Linked DNA regions of Homo sapiens: all the other regions are linked to region 1. The links are contacts of gene promoters, found by promoter capture Hi-C in blood cells and fetal thymus (Javierre and others, 2016). All regions are on one chromosome and are shown on one strand. Each heading gives the region's core, a stretch centred on a gene start or on the middle of the fragment in contact. The rest is flanking DNA. Distances are from core to core; before and after follow the strand shown.

Region 1 (3,805 bases), core at 1,269-3,768:
GTACTGGGCCACATAAAAGTGTCTGAATTTTACTTTTAAGTGAAGTAGGAAGTCATTAGAGGATCTTAAGTGGAGAAAGTATATGCTATGATTCGTCTTCAAAGTTCACTCTCCCAGTTCTGTGAGGAAATGGATCACAGCAGGTGGGCAAAAGTGGAAACAGGGAGATCATTTAGGAAGCTACTGCACTGAACTGACAAAAAAAAATGCTGACTTGGAAAAAATGTTTCCTTTCATGAGGGTTAATTAGAATAATGTAAATTAACTGCTACATTCAGTGTCTGATATATAAACACTCAACAATATATTATACTATTATTATTAGTTTATACCTACAGAAAACTCTTCTTATTCAACACGATATGAACATCAAAACCCTTGAGACAGTAACTTGGGAGGTATACAATGACCATACACTCAAGGTTTAAGAAGTAGAACTCTATTATTTATTTAACAAAATGTGTTGAGGATCTACACTGTGCAAATTATAAACTGGTTTGCTGAGCCAGCATAGGGAAACTGGATTAATATATCAGGCATCATAGAATACTAGATCTGGAAGGGATCTAGAAGAGTTCAGCCCCTCACTTTACGACAAAAGAGCAGCCCAGAGAAAGAAACTGTGGTTCTCCCTAAACTAAAAACTGAGAGGCTCATACCTTAGGTTGCCCCAAGGACACACTCTGAATAACTAAAGATTTTCATTAACAATATAAAACCACAAATTTTAAATAAAATGCTATCTTAGCAGTAATGTGCTACACTAAGAAAAATGTAATATGCATATAAAGCCCTGGATACAGTGCTTTGTACGGGGTGAACACTCAATAAATGGTAACTACTACTTTCAGCAGCTAAAAAAAAAGTCTGTATGGTCTTTGGAAGGCTGAGAGTGTGTGGTCTACCTGACATCAACTACTTGACTTGAGAGTAGAGCCACAGGAATTTTAATCTAATTCAATTCTTTGATTTTCCAGATGGAAAAAATGAGGTCTAAAGGGGCTAGATTCAGGCGTTCAAGGCTGCGGTGAGCTATTATCATGCTAGTGCACTACAGCCTGGGTGACAGAGCAAGACATTTTCTCTAATAAAAAAAAAATAATAATAATAATAAAGGGACTAAATGACTTGCAAAGCCACCCACAGTGAATTAGAGACAGAGACAGAGCCAAAGCCAAACCCACATGTAGTGGGTTTCCACTACATGTCACAGCTATAAGGTAGTGTTTCAAACTTTTATAAAAGGGTAACAAGAACATAGCTGCTGTACTGAACTTTTTCACTCCTTTTATTAAGGCCACCAGTGAGCTATGAATTTGATATAAGGAGCAATCACACCAACAATCAGGCTGTGAATATATAATCCATGAGTTAACAACGAAACAGTCTTAGGAACGCAATTCTATCATAGACACCTGATGAATAGATGGAGTTCACCTGAGCAGCTGTTATATGCACTTCAATAGAGAGACTACAAAGCCTCTCTACTTGTAGAATACAAGTACAAAGAAGATGCTTTAAAACATTTTCCAAAGCACACTTAAAATGTGACAATAGCTGCCGGTCACTAAGAAGCTAAAGGGAGATAAATTATCTTGGCATACAGCAACAGAATGGTTTATTTTAAGCAAAGACTAAAAGGAGTCTAATAAAATTATTGGGAGACCAAGGCTAAAAGCCACAGATGCAGGAAGAGTTGCAGCAACCAATCCAAAAAAGTTTAGCCTTTCACAAAGAGTAGAAAGGCCAGCTGTGGACTGTGTGTGGACTTTTAGGTCCTTTTGCATTGAAGATTAGGGTGGCCTCCCCCTAGCCTCGAAATAAAAAATCGTCTCTGAAGCAGAGAGACAACAAGGCAGGGCATGAAGAGGAATCCAATCTATTTCTTGTAAATTAAATTCAACTCAACAAATATTTCCTGAAAATCTACTATGTGCAAGACATTGTGAACGATGCTTGCCTTACCTCAAAGGCTTCAAAATTTTATGGGAAAAGGGAAGCGAACGGGCTTCCCGGAAGTAAACAACCCAAGGGCGAATAGAAATGCCCTAAAAGAGGTGCCGGTCAGGCTTATCGGTTCAAAAGCAAGAAGGCTTTGGGACTCAAGAGTTTAGTCTCCCAAAGTGAGAGAAGTGGCGTTCAAGATAATTGCTGAAGAAAAGGCAGAGATATGGGGATGAAAGATAGGAAAGTAGGTGAACTTTAGGAAGAGCCAAGAGGGGCCAACTCTCGGTTCCCTCACAACTGCCAGTTTCCTCCCGCGCTCAGCCGACGTCACGCGCACCCGTGTCCGCGGGCAGGCGCCACGGTTCCGGACCAGACCTACCCCTCCTCTATTCTCCCCGCCCTTTCTCACCTCGGTCCAAACTCCTCGGTCTGCCCTGTCTGAGAAGAGGAGAAGACAATGCCGTCGGGAGTGAGCCCCAAAGCCCGCAACCTAACAGTCCCGTCAACCCGGGAGCCACCGGCGGCGGCCAGGCCGCATCTCCATGGCAACGCCGCCAAGCGCCAGTTCGAACGCCCGCGCTGTGGCCCGCGCGTCGCCAGTCCCGCACCGCCCACCAATGGGCATCCAAGGAATCGGTTGACGTTCGTTGACTTCTCCTCTGGAAGACCAATCAGAGGTCTGAAGAAACCGTGGGCGTAACTCTCAATTTCCGACCTTCAGCCAATCGTTCCGCTTGAGGGAAGATCTCGCGACGTTTCAGTGTGAGACGCGCACCTTTGAGGCGGGTCGAAGATCCTTCTGCCGAATTCTATTGATGGGCCCAAGCGTAACCAGGCTCTTCTGATTGGCCGGTGTACTTCAGTTTCCGTCCAAGGTCCGCCTCCTACCTCCTTCTGCTTCGGGTGAGTACCCTTAAGGGCCCACTTGATTTTAGTTCTCAGTGGAGGAAATGAGCCTTGGAGCGATGGGAATCTGCCTCTGGCAAACCTCTGGTCGCTGCAGGGCCCGAGAGGGATGCGCCCTCCTCTAAGTTGGCAGTGAGGTGTGGGCAGGCCAGGTCCCATCCGCTCTCAGGACCTCAGTTTTCCTGTCTGCACCGGGAGAAGGGAGGTTCCCTGACTCTGAGCCTTGCTTGTCCCCGTCGGAGTGGGGATAGGGTGGGTCGTCCAAATCCCAGAGGCGGGAGAGGTCCAGGTTTAGGGCCCAGAGGCCCAGGCGCCGAACCTTCCCCTCCCTGGGCCTCAGTTTCACTTGTTGCTACCCATTAAACCCCGCCTGCTTTCCAAAAGAGATTTTATGTTTTCTAATTGCTTCAGTTATTGAATGGATAATATCGTGGCAGTTATAGCAGAAGTAAAGAAAGTCGAACAAGAGCCCCACCGCCTTAAACAAACAAACAAAAAAGGGACAGCGTAAACAATGCAGGCCGGGTGCGGTGGCTCACGCCTGTAATCCCAGCATTTTGGGAGGCCAAGGCGGGCGGATCACGAGGTCAGGAGATCGAGACCATCCTGGCTAACACGGTGAAACCCCGTCTCTACTAAACAAAATACAAAAGTTAGCCAGGCGTCGTGGCGGGCACGTATAGTCCCTGCTACTCGGGAGGCTGAGGCAGGAGAATGGCATGAACCCAGGAGGCGGAGCTTGCAGTGAGCGGAGGTCGCGCCACTGCACTCCAGCCTGGGCGACAGAGCGAGACTCCGTCTCAAAAACAAAACAAAACAAAAAAAAACTGAATGCAATCAAATTGTCAAATGTAAAACGCTATTATAGAGTTAAGGTTAAGATCATTGATGTTAGGAGTCAGGCAGACCTACATTTGAGTCACTTACCCAGACATCTCTGAGCTATAGTTCC
Region 2 (3,457 bases), core at 373-2,872, 510 kb before region 1:
GGTTGGAGACCAGCCTCGCCAACATGGTGAAATCCCGTCTCTACTAAAAATACAAAAATTAGCTGGGCATGGCTGTGCACACCTGTGGTCCTGCTACTTGGGAGACTGAGGTTAGAGGATGGCTTAAGCCCAGGAGGTTACTGCTAGAGTGAGCTATAATCACTCTACTGTACTCCAGCCTGGGCAACAGAGTAAGACCCTGTCTCAATAAAAGGGGTGGGTAGTGGTGGTATCCAGAATACAGCTATGCCTTAAAGTTTTTTTCTTTCAAGTTTCTATGAATCATTAACCATGTGCCAGTCACTACGCTAAATGCTGTACATACATTTAATCATTACAATTGCTTGTGTTGGGTATAATTAATCCCCTTTTACAGAAGCTGATTAAACAGCCGGGTGTGGAGGCATGCACCTGTAGTCCTAGCTACTTGGGAGGCTGAGGTGGGAGAATCGCTTGAACCTGGGAGGCGGAGGTTGCAGTGGGCCATGATCGCGCCACTGTGCTACAGCCTGGGTGACAGAGCAAGACCCTGTCTCAAACAAAACAAAACCAAAAAACAAAAAACTGATGATACAGGGAGAAGTAATGGAACTAGGGTTGGAACCAAGATCTGTCTAGTTCCGAAACTGTGTGTGTAGAACTCTCACAATATTCTGGCTTTTCTAGGAAATGTTTTTTAGGCAGTTATCCTAGGACATGCCTTCCTAGGAGAAAGGAGTACTGTATTCTGAACCACGGGGGGACCAAAGACTGTCCCCACATCTCACTTCGGTTATGATTATCTCGAAAGTCCCTCAGTTCCAGGGTGGACATTCAAGCCACAAGCACCTATAGGGAACTTTGACCCCTAAGTTCAACCACAGTAGTTTATTTTACAAATGGCGAAGGCGAAGGGCAGCCTGAGCACTTGCCCCAAATCACAATGAGAAGGGCTAGAGACCCAGTTTGTTATTGTCTTTTTCCTCACAACTTCCTCTTTGTAGTTAAGAAGGGAAGCAGAAGCTGACCTTTTTGTCTCACCCCGTTTCTCACGTGGAACTGCCGCACCCAGGGTGAGTAACGTGCCAAAGGGCACACTTGCCTGTGGGCTGGCCTGCGGGAAGGTCTGTTCCCACCGAAAAGACCCACATTGTCAGCACATCCTAATCAAGTAGCTACTAAGTGGAGGGACCGCAGACTGGGTGTCACGGGGAGGGGCCTGCAGCGACCAGGCCCGTCCCAGGATGGCTGCGGAGGCCCCTGGATCCACAGTGGGGAGGGCCCCGAGAGCCGGGAGACCTGGGTTCCCTTCCCGGGCACGCCTTTGGAACTGCGGCGTCCAGCCGCACAACCGTCACTCTGGGGCCACGGCAATCCCTGCGCCCGCCCTTGGTCCCCGCTGCTTCTGGGATCTTTATGGGCGGGGGACACGCGCCAGCGTCACAAAGCGCCGCGACCGCGCGGGAGACCGAGAGGAGGCGTGGAAACGGGAGGAGGAGGAGGTGGTAGTGGAGGAGAGCCAGGCACGGTGGGGGGAGGGGAGGGAGGGGCACGCGCACGCGCGTCGGGCCGCCAGCCGCTGAGAGCCGCCCAGCACCCGGCGTGCGCCCCTCCTCCCTCTCTCCCTCCCTCCCTCCCTCCCTGCTTCTCGGCTCCGTTGCTCCCGCGGCGCGAGGCGCTCTCGCTCTCCTCCTCCTCCGCCGTCGCCCCTCCCCCCGCGCAGCCCCCGCCGCCACCGCCGCGAGACCCCCGCACGCCGCTCTCCCCCCACCCTCTCCTGCCCCGCGCGCCCTCCGGCCCCTGCGGCCCCCGAAGAGAACGAGAGGGCGAGCGAGCGCGGCGTTCCCGGGCCGGCCCGGCCCCCTCCCTTCACCATCGCCGGCCCTCCGCCGCCTTCCTCCGCTTCCACCTCCTCTCCCCCCCCCCAAGTTGAGGCCCCCTCCGGGGGGGGGAGGCCCGGGACCGGGACCCGTAGCGAATTCTCCTAACTCCCTCGACCTCTCCTCTCGCCCGGCCCGAGTGTGAGGAGAAGGGCCCGGCCCGGCCTGCGTCGTGTGTGAGGAGGACCCCGGGCGGGCCCACGGGCCGTGTGGGGCCTGGTCTGGCCCGCCGGGTGTGTGAAGACCGGGGCCCGGTGCTGCCCGGCCGGAGGGCGAGCGGAGGGGAGGGGCCTGGTCCGGCCCGGCCGGTGCGTGAGGACTGGGGCCCGGGCCCGGCGCCGCCGCCGCCGCCGCCGCCGCGATGGCCCAGCAGCAGATGACCAGCTCGCAGAAGGCCCTGATGCTCGAGCTGAAATCCCTGCAGGAGGAACCGGTGGAGGGCTTCCGGATCACCCTGGTGGACGAGTCCGACCTCTACAACTGGGAGGTGGCCATCTTCGGACCCCCCAACACCCTCTACGAAGGCGGCTACTTCAAGGTACCCTCACCCTCCTCCCGGACCCTGCTTCCGCGGCCGAGGCCTCCGGCTCCCCGCCGCTTTCTGCAGTTCCTGGGACCAGGAGTATGAGCACGGGCGAGTGGAGGGGGCTTCTCACCCGTGCAGCCCCCTCCCCCATCCCTGGAGGCAGGAAGGCCTTGCTCGCCGAGTGCCTTTTCTTTGTCATGGGGGCGGGGGCTCGGGCGGGGGCGGGAGGGCAGGCTGCACCGGGAAATCGGAGAGCCTCTCTGGTTAGGGTAGTGTCTACGGGCGGAGGAGGCCGCCTTTGTTTCCCCCGCTGAGGGTGGGTGGAAAGAGCGGTGGTCTATCTGTGCTTTTTCGTTCTCCGGTCGGAACCCCTCCCTGCGCAGGCTGGAACTGCCCCAGAGGGCAGGGTGACCTGCACCGACTGGATTGGACTTTTCTTTTTTGGGGGGTGGGGGTGGGGGTGGGGTGGGGGAGGGGCACCAGCTTGTCATTTCAGAAGCTGCCGAGTGCCCTGACATTTTGAGGATTTGTTGGGCATCTTGGGTAGTGGTAGTGCCAACTTTGCATTCCAATGGGTGGTGGTGAAGAATGGGACCCTAGGGGTGGTAAAAAAAAAAAAAAAAAAAAAAAGGGTGCCCGCGTCGTCTTGTCATTATCCATTTGGGGGAACTTTAACCCTCTTTCCGTTCACATTCTCTGCTTACCTCAGTCACTGGTTCTTTCAAAATGCCCTTTGTCCTCACCATGCCACCAAGTTTGCCAACCTTTTTTTCTACAGGTAGAAGTATCCACAAAGGGTGGAACGAGTCATGTAGGGAGACTGATAGCTTCCTACTTTCAGAGACAAAATTGAAACCTGCTCAAGTGGTTAACTCTAGCTAAAGGGGTGGTCTCACAGATGACAAGTATCATCTGAGGCGAGATCGTTTCTCTGGGTGGGATGTATGGTTCCTTAGCGACCACAGACATTGTTTCTGTTGTTTTATATGGTCTTAGAACAGTGGTTATCATTCCAGAATCTAATGATTTTTTTTTAACTCCAAGGTAGTTAACTTGGAGATAATGAGTGTTT
Region 3 (3,609 bases), core at 531-3,030, 860 kb before region 1:
TCCATCAGCCTCAGGGTCCCAGGTACACACCTCGAACAAAAGCTGCAGACACTCAACAGTACCTGTAAACGAAGCAAGCTGGAGTGGAACAAGATCTCAGTCTCCCGAAGGCGATTAAGCTCCTCATTGGTAGGCTCCTTGTACAGTTCTGCCCTGCTGAGCTTCACTGGCTGCAGGAGGCCCTTCGCTGGAGGTTCAGCCAATGTACGCTTCCTGGAGGATGCTTTCTTCCCCTCTTTGCCTGTGCCTTCCAGGGCTGGTTCCATCACCTGTGGCCAGTGAGGGAGAAGCCATTTTGAGGTAATAGGTATCTAGCATCTGCTGCCTAAAGTGCCACCATGATAGGTTGTGGGTAAAAGCTTCACCTGCTCTGTCCCTCTTTTGAGTAGGAGTCAGATTTTGTAAAACTCAGGAGAATCGTTACTTGGATGAACATCACTGAGCGCTGAGCCGAAAATTCCTTGAGTTAAGAGCTCTCCTGTCTACCTGACACCACAAGCATGGAGCTCTGTTTGGAATTGGTAGTGATAGAAGCTGACTGGGCCCAGGCTGGACACGGTGGCTGACGCCTGTAATCCCAGCAGTTTGGGAGGTGGAGCTGGGCGGATCAGCTGAAGTCAGGAGTTCGAAATCAGCCTGGCCAACATGGGGAAACTCCGTCTCTATTAAAAATACAAAAATTAGCCAGGTGTGGTGGCACATGCCTGTAATCTCAGCTACGCGGGAGACTGAGGCAGGAAAATCACTTGAACCCAGGAGGCAGAGGCTGAAGTGAGCCGAGATCGTGCCATTGCATTCTAGCCTGGGCAACAGAGCAAGACTGTCAAAAAAAAAAAAAAAAAAAAGAAGCTGACTGAGCCCTGCCCTAAGTAATGCCCAGGCCCCTTGTATTTTCAGGAAGTTTCCTCTTCTGCTGATATAGGCCTGGGACTTCTCAAATGTCTTTCCCATTCTCGCTCCAACCAAATCCTGCCAGGTTCCACCTCCTCTAGGAAGACCTGACTGCCTCAGTTTACACTAAATACTCACTGATGGAAGGAGCTAGAACCGACTGGACCCCAGAGGACACATTTAGCAAGTCATTAAATCCTCAAAATAATTCTTGAAGACACTTGAAGTCCCACTATTCACTCGAGGTTCCACAACTGGTACACCCGTACTATGAGCAGGCTTCAAAGGCAAGCGTGCAGGATCCCAAACCTTTTCCCCTACAGCCGTGGGCCCATCCGCTCCACGATGCCTCTCATCCCAGAGAGCCTTACTGGAGCGCTCCAGGAGAGGCACCGTATGCCCTCCGCTACAGCGGGGAGCACAGAACTGGACACAAATTCTGTGGAGGAAGATCCCGCTTATCGTCAAGGACCACCAAATAAAAGAAACGACCCAAGTGTGGGTCTCTTCAACTTTGAGGTGCAGAGCTCCAGAAGAGAGCAGAGGCTCTACCGGCTTCACTGCTTCTAACCAAATACTGCCAGGTTCCATCACCCCTAGCAAGCCCTGTCTCAGTGCCACTGGCTGGAAACATCCTCCAGAATGGGCCGCCGGCATGGCTTTCACCCGCAAGCTGTCAGATCACGCCATCTCGGGCCCTGCAGCCAAGGGAGCGCACATTGAGCCTCTGTTCCTCCCCGATGGCTCAACCCACCTCTGGCTCTCCAGTCGCTCCGCGAAGCTGCTCTCCAGCTGGCGCCGGCCCCATCACTCAGGGTCCAGCACTCTCCCGCACTTCAGATTCTAGCCGGGTCTATACCTCATAGCTTCCCACGTGGGCGGAAATGCCTAACTCCAGGCCCAAGTCCAGCCCACCCCAATTCCTCAGGACTCCACCCACTCCAGAGCTATTGGATTATCAGTCGATTACTCGCTTGCCATTGGCCGGGCAGTCTCAAGGCCCGCCCATTAGGGGAGGGGACAAACGGGTTTCTGTGCTTTACGGCCTCTTCGCGACGCTAGAACGGAAGCCTGCCCGTAGCTAGGCCTTTGCTTTCTTTTCCTCACTTCCTTCGCGTGGCTGCAATCGGGAAGGGCGGAGCTAGTTTGTTCCTTTTGGTCAGGTTTGTTTACAGCAGTTATTCCTCCCTTTTTCTTTATTTGCTACACCTTATCAGTTAACAAATCTTGTCAGTTCTACCTCCAAAACATACCTTGAATTTATTCATTTTTCTGTGTCTTCACTGCCAGGTTTAGCCCGTCACATCATCTTGTTCCCGAATTATTGTTATGACTTTTCTCCAGTTTTTACTTATTACTTAGCTTATTACAATTTCAAGTAATTTAGTTATTTTTATTTATTTATTTATTTATTTATTTATTTATTTATTTATTTATTTTTGGAGTAGTCTTGCTCTGTCGCCCAGGCTGGAGTGCAGTGGCACGATCTCAGCTCCCTGCATCCTCCCTCTCCCAGGCTCAAGCGATTCTCGTGCCTCAGCCTCCTGAGGAGCTGGGATTACAGGCAGGTACCATCACACCCGTCTAATTTTTGTATTTTCACTAGAGATGGGGTTTCCTCATGTTGCCTAGGCTGGTCTCAAACTCCTGACTGCCAGTGACCCGCCCACCTTGGCCTCCCGAAATGCTGGGATTACAGGCCTGAGCCACTGCTCCCGGCCTATTTTTAAACTATTAAAAATTTAAAACAAATGTTGCAAGAATAATATAATGAATGCGCATATACTCTTCACCTAGATTCACTTAGTGTTACTATTTTGCCAAGTTTATCTTTACCTATGTATTTACATATTATTTTGCAAAACCATTTGAAAACCAATCACACATCTCCCTAAATACTTAGGTATGTATCTACTAAGATCAAGGACTACCTCTTATGTAAGCACAGCCCGATTATGAAATTAAGGAAATTTAATCGTGATTCAATACTAGTATACAAATTCCATCTTTAAATTTTGTCAGTTATTCCAGTAATAACCGTTATATGTTTCATTTTATTTCCTAATGCAGGATCATCTAAATTCAACTATTACCATATAATATATATATATATATATATATATATATATATATATATATTTTTTTTTTTTTTTTTTTTTTTTTTTTTTGAGAGAGAGTGAGTGTCCCTCTGTTGCCCAGGCTAGAGTGCAGTGGGTCGATCTCAGCTTACTGCAACATCCACCTCCTGGTTCAATTGATTATTGTGGCTCAGCTTCCCAAGTAGCTGGGATTACAGGCATGCGCCAACACACCAGGCCAATTTTTGTATTTTTAGTAGAGACAGAGTTTCACCATGATGGCCAGCCTGATCTCAAACTCTGGCCTCAAGTGATCTGCCCTCCTCAGTCTCCCAAAATGCTGGGATTACAGGGGTGAGCCACCGTGCCCAGTCTAAAAATTTGTATTGAAGTACAATATACATAAGGAAAAATGTACATATCCCAAGTGTAAAGCTTGAATACTAACAAACCAAACATACTCATATAGTCAGCTCCCAGAAAATAAGCAGAACATTTCCTGCACCTTCAGAATCTCCCCTCATGCTGCCCTCTAGTAACTCTGCCCCCAACAATCACTATTCTGACTTCAAACAGTGCAGGTCAGTTTATACAATAGCTTTTTTATTATTTATTATTTATTTATTTATTTATTTTTTGA

Evidence for each region. Contacts are between HindIII fragments. The CHiCAGO score rates a contact against its expected background, and 5 or more counts as called.
Region 2: the fragment with the promoter of UBE2R2 here is called in contact with the fragment with the promoter of KIF24 in region 1 in 3 of 17 cell types (neutrophils, erythroblasts and total B cells); the score reaches 7.9 in neutrophils.
Region 3: a contact is called between the fragment with the promoter of NOL6 here and the fragment with the promoter of KIF24 in region 1, in 1 of 17 cell types (neutrophils). The highest score is 5.1, in neutrophils.

What each region holds. Positions count from the first base shown.
Region 1 is chr9:34,326,750-34,330,554 of GRCh38, forward strand. KIF24 (kinesin family member 24) reads right to left here and starts at 2,519. Exons shown (of 13, transcript NM_194313.4): 1 at 2,357-2,519. It overlaps NUDT2 (nudix hydrolase 2), which reads left to right and starts at 2,820. Exons shown (of 5, transcript NM_001161.5): 1 at 2,820-2,850. RefSeq lists enhancers at 2,186-2,245, 2,346-2,445, 2,533-3,040, 2,576-2,765. The HindIII fragment of the contact is 30,936 bases long and covers 1-3,805 here.
Region 2 is chr9:33,815,538-33,818,994 of GRCh38, forward strand. It overlaps UBE2R2 (ubiquitin conjugating enzyme E2 R2), which reads left to right and starts at 1,623. Exons shown (of 5, transcript NM_017811.4): 1 at 1,623-2,397. The coding sequence starts at 2,221. It overlaps UBE2R2-AS1 (UBE2R2 antisense RNA 1), which reads right to left and starts at 3,331. Exons shown (of 5, transcript NR_170204.1): 1 at 3,090-3,331. RefSeq lists an enhancer at 1,133-1,222 and silencers at 1,513-1,612, 1,793-2,002, 2,073-2,242. The HindIII fragment of the contact is 11,190 bases long and covers 1-3,457 here.
Region 3 is chr9:33,472,144-33,475,752 of GRCh38, forward strand. NOL6 (nucleolar protein 6) reads right to left here and starts at 1,781. Exons shown (of 26, transcript NM_022917.5): 1 at 1,646-1,781; 2 at 63-269. The coding sequence starts at 1,699. LOC107987061 (a long non-coding RNA gene) reads left to right here and starts at 1,997. Exons shown (of 3, transcript XR_001746648.3): 1 at 1,997-2,054. RefSeq lists an enhancer at 1,393-1,732. The HindIII fragment of the contact is 3,045 bases long and covers 358-3,402 here.